3 separate regions of the Homo sapiens genome follow, and regions 1 and 3 are each linked to region 2. Evidence: promoter capture Hi-C in 16 types of primary human blood cells and fetal thymus (Javierre and others, 2016). All regions are on one chromosome and are shown on one strand. Each heading gives the region's core, a stretch centred on a gene start or on the middle of the fragment in contact. The rest is flanking DNA. Distances are from core to core; before and after follow the strand shown. Region 1 holds the start of FZD4 (frizzled class receptor 4). Region 2 holds the start of TMEM126A (transmembrane protein 126A). Region 3 holds the start of ME3 (malic enzyme 3).

Region 1 (3,218 bases), core at 56-2,555, 1.3 Mb before region 2:
ACTGCTAAATGATTTACAGGTATTATCTCACTGAACTCTTAGAACAACTGTGTGAGGTGGATATGAACTTCCCCACTTTACAGCCGGCCACTTTGAGGCTCAGAGAGGCACCATAGCTTCAACACAGTCAAGCAACAAGTAAACGGTGGAGGAATCCACCTGCTGGGAGTTTACTGGCCGACTGGAAAGCAGAGAGAGGGTGGACCAGCACAAAGCCGCGGGGGGCTGGTAATGAGACAGGAAAGTTGGGTTCAAACCTGGGTCACATGATCCCCAGATCCCTAGGAGCCGAAGCAGAAGCAAAGAAAAAAAGGGGTGCAGCCTGGTGGGGAGGGGGTGCCCGGGAGGCCGGGAGAGAGGAGTCACGGTGGTTGTGCGCCTTCCTCGTCCCCAGTGCACAGGTCAAGCCTCTCCCCTCCCGCCCTCTCACCCTCCCAACCTTATTTAGAAACCGTGTCCCCGAGACAGGAAGGGCGGCGGGCCGAGAAGCACGGAGAGTCCCGGTCTCATTTCCTTTCGAATCCCCCTGTGGAATTTCATTTCATACGGTGAGGAAATCAGAGCGCGAGACCGTCGGCGGGTCTGCAGCTCCGCAGCTCTGGGGCGCCTCCCCGCTGGCGGCTGGAGGTGGGCGGCTCCCTGCGCAGGTCGGGCGAGTCTGGGGGCGGGGAGAGGCCGGGCCCCGATCGCCGCTGGTCCGGAGTGAAAATAGCTGTGGACTCACGCAGTACCAGGCACCATGCTAAGCCTTCTACACTTTATCTCTAATCCTCCCAAGTGACTTTACAGAGGAGACTGACGCCGAGGGGTTGAGCAATTTGCTCAAGGTCACACAACCGGGACTGAAAGCCACAATCGGTGTAAATCCAAATCCCCAATTCTTTGTGTACGTTTCTCTGCCTGACGGGGAGGTGGCCACCGGCCTAGGTTACAGCTGAAAGGAGACAGGAAGGAAAGGGGGCAGATGGAACAGGGCGCACTTCTCACCTGCAGAAGGGGGCAGGACGGCGTGGCTGGAGCCACTGGGCTGCGTCCCTGCTTGGCCCCTGCGCGCCTAGATCCGGGTGGGAGGAAAGCAAGAGCCGGGAGGCGGGCGGGGCGGGGCGCTAGGGGAGGGAGGGAGGGAGGGGCGGCCGGAGGAGGGGGCCGGAGGGCGGGGGCCTGACTCCTCCTGCGGGAGAGCGGCCCCGCCCCGCCGCCTCGCCCCTAGCTGCCCACCGCGCCCGGCCATTGGAGAGGCCCGCTGTCCGTCCCGCCCCGCCGCCGCGCCGCGAGCCTCCAGCGCCGCGCAGGGCTCCGGCGGTGAGAGCTGCGCAGCGCTGGCTGCTGGCTGGCCTCGCGGAGACGCCGAACGGACGCGGCCGGCGCCGGCTTGTGGGCTCGCCGCCTGCAGCCATGACCCTCGCAGCCTGTCCCTCGGCCTCGGCCCGGGACGTCTAAAATCCCACACAGTCGCGCGCAGCTGCTGGAGAGCCGGCCGCTGCCCCCTCGTCGCCGCATCACACTCCCGTCCCGGGAGCTGGGAGCAGCGCGGGCAGCCGGCGCCCCCGTGCAAACTGGGGGTGTCTGCCAGAGCAGCCCCAGCCGCTGCCGCTGCTACCCCCGATGCTGGCCATGGCCTGGCGGGGCGCAGGGCCGAGCGTCCCGGGGGCGCCCGGGGGCGTCGGTCTCAGTCTGGGGTTGCTCCTGCAGTTGCTGCTGCTCCTGGGGCCGGCGCGGGGCTTCGGGGACGAGGAAGAGCGGCGCTGCGACCCCATCCGCATCTCCATGTGCCAGAACCTCGGCTACAACGTGACCAAGATGCCCAACCTGGTTGGGCACGAGCTGCAGACGGACGCCGAGCTGCAGCTGACAACTTTCACACCGCTCATCCAGTACGGCTGCTCCAGCCAGCTGCAGGTGGGCGCCCCCACCCCCACCCCTGGCGGGACCCCTTGGGGAGGGACGCTCCAAACTAACTTTGCAGAGCCCATGCCAAGTTGATCATCCTAGCCCGAAGGAGACAGCTCTCCTGGAAAAGTGATTTCCATCCCCACCCCCACTTTCTCAGGGACTGGAAGCCAAAACGTTGTGTAAGTCATCTGGCCTGGGAAAGAACCCACTCTTACACCCCGCCCTTCCGTTTTTCTCTCTTGCCCACCCATGTCTGGCCCAGACCCCTAACCCCAGTGGAGCTGAGGGTTATCTCTGCCAAGGATTCTGGCCGCCACTGCTCGGTGGGCGAGTGGGAGGGAGCCAGCTGCAGCTAAGACTTGGAGGGAGTGATAAGGAGACCATCCTTCACCGAACTTCCTTCTCCCCACTATTTTTGGGGTGTTATTAAATGAAACACTACTGCACCTTTTTCTGCTGAATAGCCCCTTCTCACGACGTCCCGCAGCGTTTTAGAGGTCATGCATGAAGGAGTGGTTGGGTTGGCTTGAGTTCTTTCTTATCCTCACAGTTGAAGGCACGTTTAATGCTTGGAGGGTGAGAAGAAGCTGCAGGAAGGTGGTTGGTATATTGGAAGAAATTTTTTTGCAGTCATTAAAAAATGTAAAGCATATCTAATGATAGAGAAAATGTTTATTCCACAGTAATAAGAATTTGCATATACAGGGTGATTATAATCCTGCAAAATAAAAAATTTATTGGGATAATAAAAGACTGACAGGAAAATTTTTAAAGTGTTAACATTGGTTATGTTTGGGTTGGTGAGGCTGGGTGATTTTTAGAAATTTAGAAAAGAGAGAAGTTGTGGGAAAAAGTAGACGTTAGTTGTCCAGGCTTCAGAAATCTGGTTTCTGGCCGGGCGCAGTGGCTCACGCCTGTAATCCCAGCACTTTGGGAGGCCGAGGCAGGTGGCTCACGAGGTTAGGAGTTCGAGACCAGCCTGACCAACATGGCGAAATCCTGTCTCTACTAAAAGTACAAAAATTAGCCGGGCGTGGTGGCGTGCGCCTGTAATCCCAGCTACTCAGGAGGCTGAGGCAGGAGAATCGCTTGAACCCAGGAGGCAGAGGTTGCAGTGAGCGGGGATTGCACCATTGCACTCTAGCCTGGGCCACAGGAGCGAAACTCCGTATCAAAAAAAAAAAGAAAAGAAAAGAAATCTGTGGTTCTGGCTGTAACTTCTGAGAGATAATAAACAGACATACAGCTTACTTACTAGGTGCATGTTTTTACATAGGTCATTTTAAAACTTGGTTTGTGGTTTTGGAAAGATGGTGGGGATTAGA
Region 2 (3,063 bases), core at 152-2,651:
AAGCTATAGGCTGCATATGGCCTACATGCCAGTAGTTTGTTGATGTCTGCACTAGTTAGGGTGAAAATGTGAAGGGAATGGTGAATGATGAAGATTTGGCTCAGGTTTCAGGGTAACAGTTAAGAAAAACAAAGGCTGGATGCAGTGGCTCACGCCTGTAATCCCAGCACCTTGGGAGGCCAAGGCAGACGGATCACCTGAGGTCAGGAGTTCGAGACCAGCCTGGCCAACATGGTGAAACTCCCTGTCTTTTAAAAATACAAAAATTAGCCAGGCACGGCGGCAGCTGCCTGTAATCCCAGCTACTCGGGAGGCTGAGGCAGGAGAATCGCTTGAACCTGGGAGGTGGAGGTTGCAGTGTGCCGAGATCTCGCCACTGCACTCCAGCCTGGGTGAGAGCGAGACTCGGTCTACAAAAAAAAAAAAAAAAACAGTTCAGGGATAACAACAAAGGAAAACATGCTTTTATGAAACCAGATTTTCTCATTTCCTACAACATTACAGGCACTCGTTTAAATATTTATTGCTACCTGTTTTATATCGATAAGAGGTCATTTGGAAATGTTGATTACCTTGACATTCCATATCTCTAGACTTAAAGCTAACCTAATAAGTACAAAGCAGCCTTAGAAATTTATGTCTAGGTTTCTGGTAGTCAAATTTTTGAGGGCCTTGGCTACGATAAGATGATAAGACACAATCTCTGCTGTACAGGAGCTCTGAATGATTTTGTGTATGGGGTGGTGAAATATATAATCAAATTTAGTATGTATATATTGTACTGAGGGCAATTAAGTCACTCAATTCAGTATAAGTGCTGACTGGGCAGCCCCTGTGGGCATTTTGTCTCCGATATTAATAACAAATATCTATCAAAGACAACGCCGCCTGTAAAAACTACAAATATTTCGAAAGATTTTTGTGTTACCTATCTCATGTCATTCTTGGAAGAGCTCTGAGAGATAGGCAGTGTGGGGCCTATCTGAAAGAGAAGTAAAGTGGGACCTCTGAAAATCAAATTTGGCCGTGGTCACCTTGTAAATTGACAGTAAACCTGGGATTAAATTCAATCTCAGGCATTTCTCCTTTCTACTGAGTTAATTTAAATATAAGGTCTTTCCTTCTAGAGTGCAAAGTGAAAAGACAGCAGGAAGAGCTAACTACACTTCTACTTGCTCTCATTTACGCGCAGCGCTGCTGGTAGCTAGCGTGTCACCGCGTCGTGCTTCTCCTGACACCGGGACATTTACTTCACCCCCTCCCCCGGAATACCAGTACCTTATGCTCTCCTCCCAGCAGCCTGTGGGTGCCTCCTCCTTCCTCAGCCACGCCGGAGTTCACTGTGGCCTTTGCTCAAATTACCTGGGCGCAGCCATCTTTGGCTGACTCGTGACGCGGCGTGGGCGGGCGCCGGGTCGCGGCTGCTAATTGGACTGCGGGACGGAGGTTGCAGCCAGCAGCGGCTTTGGGCTGAGAAGCTTCCGGCCCTAGGAGGTGCCGGGAGGCTAAGCGTTGAGGTTTGTTTGCCTGGCGTAGAGTGTGCTCGTTTCACCTACTCTTGCCTCCCAGGACAGAACTTGTAGAAATTGTGAAATTTCGAGATATAAGTTGGGTGACCCTCAGTCAGCCTCTTCCATTGAAAACGTACCTCGGGCATATTACTTAACTTCCTGGTCAGTAGAGCCTACTTACGTTCTTGGCATGGGGTAAATGAAAACTGCACAGCTCTTGGCATATGATAGCTACTCAGGTTAAAAATAAGTCAAAGGTGAGCTATTTCTTGGCTCTATCGATTTTCTACTCTCCCTAGGAACTTAAGCTCCCTGTGCCATGTTTTGATCTGTATTGATTGCCCTACCATAATCAGCACCTCAGAGCTGCAGCTTATTTTTCTGAGGATTTCTCGTGTTCTCCAGAGTACTGCTTATTTGGAAGCAGTGTTGGGTGAAAGTCATCTTATTTCTTCTTGCTTTTTAAGTATAAATACTAGAAAATTTAGAATTATATATGTGGCTTGCATTATATTTCTATTGGACAGTGCTGTTCAGAAGGTACCTCTAATGCTCTCCTCCCAGCAGCCAGTGGATGCCTCACCAGGTCTTCCTCAGCCATGCTGGGGCTCCCTGCAACCTTTGCTCAGTTCGCTTGGACTAATTAACCCAATAGAAGGGAAAAATGCCTACAATTGAATTTTATCTTAACTCCATTAAGATTAGCAGGTAAACATTGTGCCAAAAAATATATAACTAACTGTAGCAATAAATACATGATCATAACACATTATCAGAAATCTTAATTATTCTCATCCTCTCAAATTTCTGAACAAGTGATAAAGTGTTGCATTGTCCAGATAATTTTTATACTGTCTCTCCATTGCAGGGTTGCTTGACCATTAGGCTCCATAGTGCCAAGAAGTCTGTAATTGCAGTTTCTAAACTTGCACAAATAGAAAGACTTATTTTCACGAAGGTGTACAAGAAGGAAAATTCCTAGTCTTTTTTTTATTTTTATTTTTTATTTTTTAGACAGAGTTTTGCTCTCGTCGGCCAGGCTGGAGTGCAATGGCCTGATCTCAGCTCATTGCAACTTCTGCCTTCCAGGTTCAAGCGATTCTCCTGCTTCAGCCTCCAGAGTAGCTGGGATTACAGGCGTGTGCCACCACGCCCAGCTGATCAGCTGATTTTTTTTTTTGTTTTTGAGACTGAGTCTCGTTCTGTCACCCAGGCTGGAGTGTAGTGGTGTGATTTCGGCTCACTGCAAGCCCCGCCTCCTGGGTTCACAGCATTCTCCTGCCTCAGCCTCCCAAGTAGCTGGGACTACAGGCTCCTGCCACCACGCCTGGCTAATTTTTTTGTATTTCTAGTAGAGACGGGGTTTCACTGTGTTAGCCGGGATGGTCTCTATCTCCTGACCTCGTGATCCACCCGCCTCGGCCTCCCAAAGTGCTGGGATAACAGGCGTGAGCCACCGTGCCCAGCCTCGGCTTATTTTTTAGTAAAGACAGGATTTCACCACGTTAGCCAGGCTGGTCTCGAACTCCTGACCTCAGGTGATCCACCCGCC
Region 3 (2,840 bases), core at 205-2,704, 1.0 Mb before region 2:
TCTGACACAAACTGGTTTAAGGCAGAAAAAAAGATCATTTATAAGCTTATGTAAATATGCAGTCCAAGAGTAAACCTGACTTCAGGGATGTAAACCCTACTGGATGAGAATCTTCATGGATGGGGCCTGGAAAGCTGTATTTTTGCCCCATCCTTATTTCCTACCAGGTAATTGTAATTCTGTTTTGGAAATAACTATTTTACGTAGATCATTCAAGTTGAAAATTAGATATTACACAGGGAGGAGAGAGACTGCAGGAGGAGACGATTATTCCTGAAGGGATGAGGGAATCCTGAACTCAGGCAGGAGCACCCCTTAGCACATTATGGGCCATGATGTCTGCTTGGTACTTACAACGGGGCTAATGCTGGCACCGGGAGCTTTGAAGGGGTGTCAGCAGAGGACCGTGCCAACTGTCTGTCAGTAAGTCTAAGGGTTCACGATCCTTATGAAAGTGGCTGCCACTTCCCTTCACCTAACAACTATTTATTGTGCAACTACATACCAGGCAGTGAGCTAGGCAGTGAGGACACACAGGTTCACAGGCAAAGAGCCTCTCTTCATGAAGCTTACATTCTAGACAGGAGATAGTCAGTAAACAATCAGAAAAACAAGCGCGCTACTGACTGTGTTAAGTTCTCTAAAGAGAAAAACCCCTTCACTCTATAGTTCCTAGTGCAGGCTGACATTGAATGGGATAGAGGAAAGGCCTTCGAGTTGACAACTTAGTGGAGAACTGAGAGGTGGGAATGAAGTAGTGGTTTGCAAGGCTGGAGTATGAGCCTTCCAAGGAGAGGCAATAGCAAGTGCAAAGGCCCTGCAGTGGGAGGGAACCAAGTGGGGTGAAGACACAGGAAGGATCAAGTATGGCCAGAGATCAGTGAGAAGGAAAGAGTAGAGTAGGATAAGTCTGAAGAGGCTGGCAAGAGCCAGTTTATGGGAAATCTTGTAGGCCCTGAAAGTTTGGATTTTATTCCACACACAACAAAGTGTTTGCTTTAAAAGGAATCTCCTGACTACTGTGTGGAGAAAGTATAAAATTAAGTTTGGGGCTAGATGGACCCCAAGATCCCTGTCTGGCCCCAATAACCCATGGCAAACTCCATGGGGTCCTCAGAAGTCCTCTTAGTAACTGTGGCTCCTATGTCAATGATGCTTAATAGAAGTATCCGCAAAAACAGAAATGTTCTGTATCTGCATACAAGTGGCTCTTGAACTGGAAATGTGGCTAGCGTGACTGCAGAACTGGATGTTAAATTTTATTCTATATAGACTAATTTATTTACGTTTATATAGCCACACGTGGCGAATGGCTATTATATTGGACAGCACAAGGCAACACTGAGCACCGAATGCCTGAGGATTTCTACTCCAAATCCTGAAGGCACGCCCTTCCCCGAATGTTGGGAGAGTGCGAGGATATGCTGACCCCCAAACGCAAATCCCCCTCTGTGCATTTAGTCTTGCCAAGATGGAGAGTCTCAGGCGGGCATTCTGAGCTGCTTCTTGTCACTGGGGAAAACCACGTGCACGCAGTGCTGAGGCGCCCCACGCGCGTCCTCAGGGGAAGCCAGGCACTGAGAACAAAGGTTGTGGGACCGCTCTTTGAGGAACTCACCAGCTCCGCGAGCTCGCGGCCGCCAGCGCGGTCCACCCATTGGCGGGAGAGGACTCACAGACCGCAGCTCCTCACCCCGCCTGCTCCGCAGCGGGACCGCGTAGACCTCAGCTCCCCGAGCAGCGCAGGTGGGCCAGGGAAGGAGAGGACCGAGGCAAGCCACCACGCGGGATTAGGGGTACGGGGACCCCTCGCCGCGCAGTCGCCTCTTTTTCACAGGGATGGGGGCAGGGGTGGCGCCGGCTGTCACCCGCACCGGATCTGCTTCCAGGGCTTGGTTTCGCTTTGCCTGGCTCTTGGCTAGGCCTGGCGCCCCGCGCGGAGCCGAGCAGGTGGCAGCCGAGGAGTGGCGGGGGCTGGAACATTTAACCCTTTGGGAGCACCTGCCCTCTCCCAGAGGGCGCGTCCCCGGATCAGGCCCGGTGCCCCGCAGCGCGCGTGGGTCCTGGCTGGCTGGAAGGAGGCCCTGACCTTGCTTTCTCTCCCGTGCCAGGTCTGCCAAGGACCATGGGTGCCGCGCTGGGGACAGGCACGCGGCTGGCTCCCTGGCCGGGCCGGGCCTGCGGCGCCCTCCCGCGCTGGACACCCACCGCGCCCGCCCAAGGCTGCCACTCCAAGCCTGGCCCGGCGCGCCCTGTGCCCCTGAAGAAGCGCGGATACGATGTCACCAGGAACCCTCATCTCAACAAGGTAATGGGCCAGAGGGCAGGACGGCCCGCGTTGCGATCCCGTGGCTGCCGGAAAATTGCGCCCCGCCCCCTGGACCCAGAAAGGATCCTCCCGGGCGCCCTTCCAGCGGTTTTTCTGTTTTTGCCTTGCAGGGGCTTGTTGTGACTTGGTTTGGCTTTCTTGTCCCTCCTCTCCCTTTTATGCGTGGAGAGAGGCGACCAGTAATGCAGGGAGCCTAATTTCTTCTGCAGTAACAACACAGACCAGGTTTAGATCCTCGCGGTCAGTCTGACCTGCGGTCAGCTCTCCCCTTGATGCTTACTAATTTTATTGGTCTTGGGCAGTTCATTTAACCTACATGAGCCTAGGTTTCCTTATCTGTAAAAGAGATATAATTGTCTTAGGAATGTCGTGAGATCTAAAGAGAAAATGCGGGTAGAAAATGGGGGTACGTTAGAACAGTGCCTGGTACCCAGTGGGAGAATAAATAAGGTTATGATTATTATTCTGAGAAAAAGATTAATTTGAGAGCAAGGATGGAAAAGTCTAGACT

Evidence for each region. The method cuts DNA at HindIII sites, captures the fragments that hold promoters and counts their contacts. A CHiCAGO score of 5 or more calls a contact.
Region 1: a contact is called between the fragment with the promoter of FZD4 here and the fragment with the promoter of TMEM126A in region 2, in 2 of 17 cell types (M0 macrophages and M1 macrophages). The highest score is 8.7, in M0 macrophages.
Region 3: the fragment with the promoter of ME3 here is called in contact with the fragment with the promoter of TMEM126A in region 2 in 4 of 17 cell types (M2 macrophages, fetal thymus, M1 macrophages and 1 more); the score reaches 10.5 in M2 macrophages.

The regions. Positions count from the first base shown.
Region 1 is chr11:86,953,482-86,956,699 of GRCh38, reverse strand. FZD4 (frizzled class receptor 4) reads left to right here and starts at 1,305. Exons shown (of 2, transcript NM_012193.4): 1 at 1,305-1,899. The coding sequence starts at 1,615. FZD4-DT (FZD4 divergent transcript) reads right to left here and starts at 1,079. Exons shown (of 3, transcript NR_038905.1): 1 at 988-1,079. RefSeq lists silencers at 578-727, 1,078-1,447, 1,578-1,627. The HindIII fragment of the contact is 4,830 bases long and covers 1-3,218 here.
Region 2 is chr11:85,646,305-85,649,367 of GRCh38, reverse strand. It overlaps TMEM126A (transmembrane protein 126A), which reads right to left and starts at 1,401. Exons shown (of 5, transcript NM_032273.4): 1 at 1,279-1,401. RefSeq lists enhancers at 1,151-1,420, 1,591-1,640. The HindIII fragment of the contact is 2,186 bases long and covers 1-1,480 here.
Region 3 is chr11:86,671,230-86,674,069 of GRCh38, reverse strand. ME3 (malic enzyme 3) reads left to right here and starts at 1,454. Exons shown (of 15, transcript NM_001161586.3): 1 at 1,454-1,746; 2 at 2,112-2,308. The coding sequence starts at 2,126. The HindIII fragment of the contact is 7,449 bases long and covers 571-2,840 here.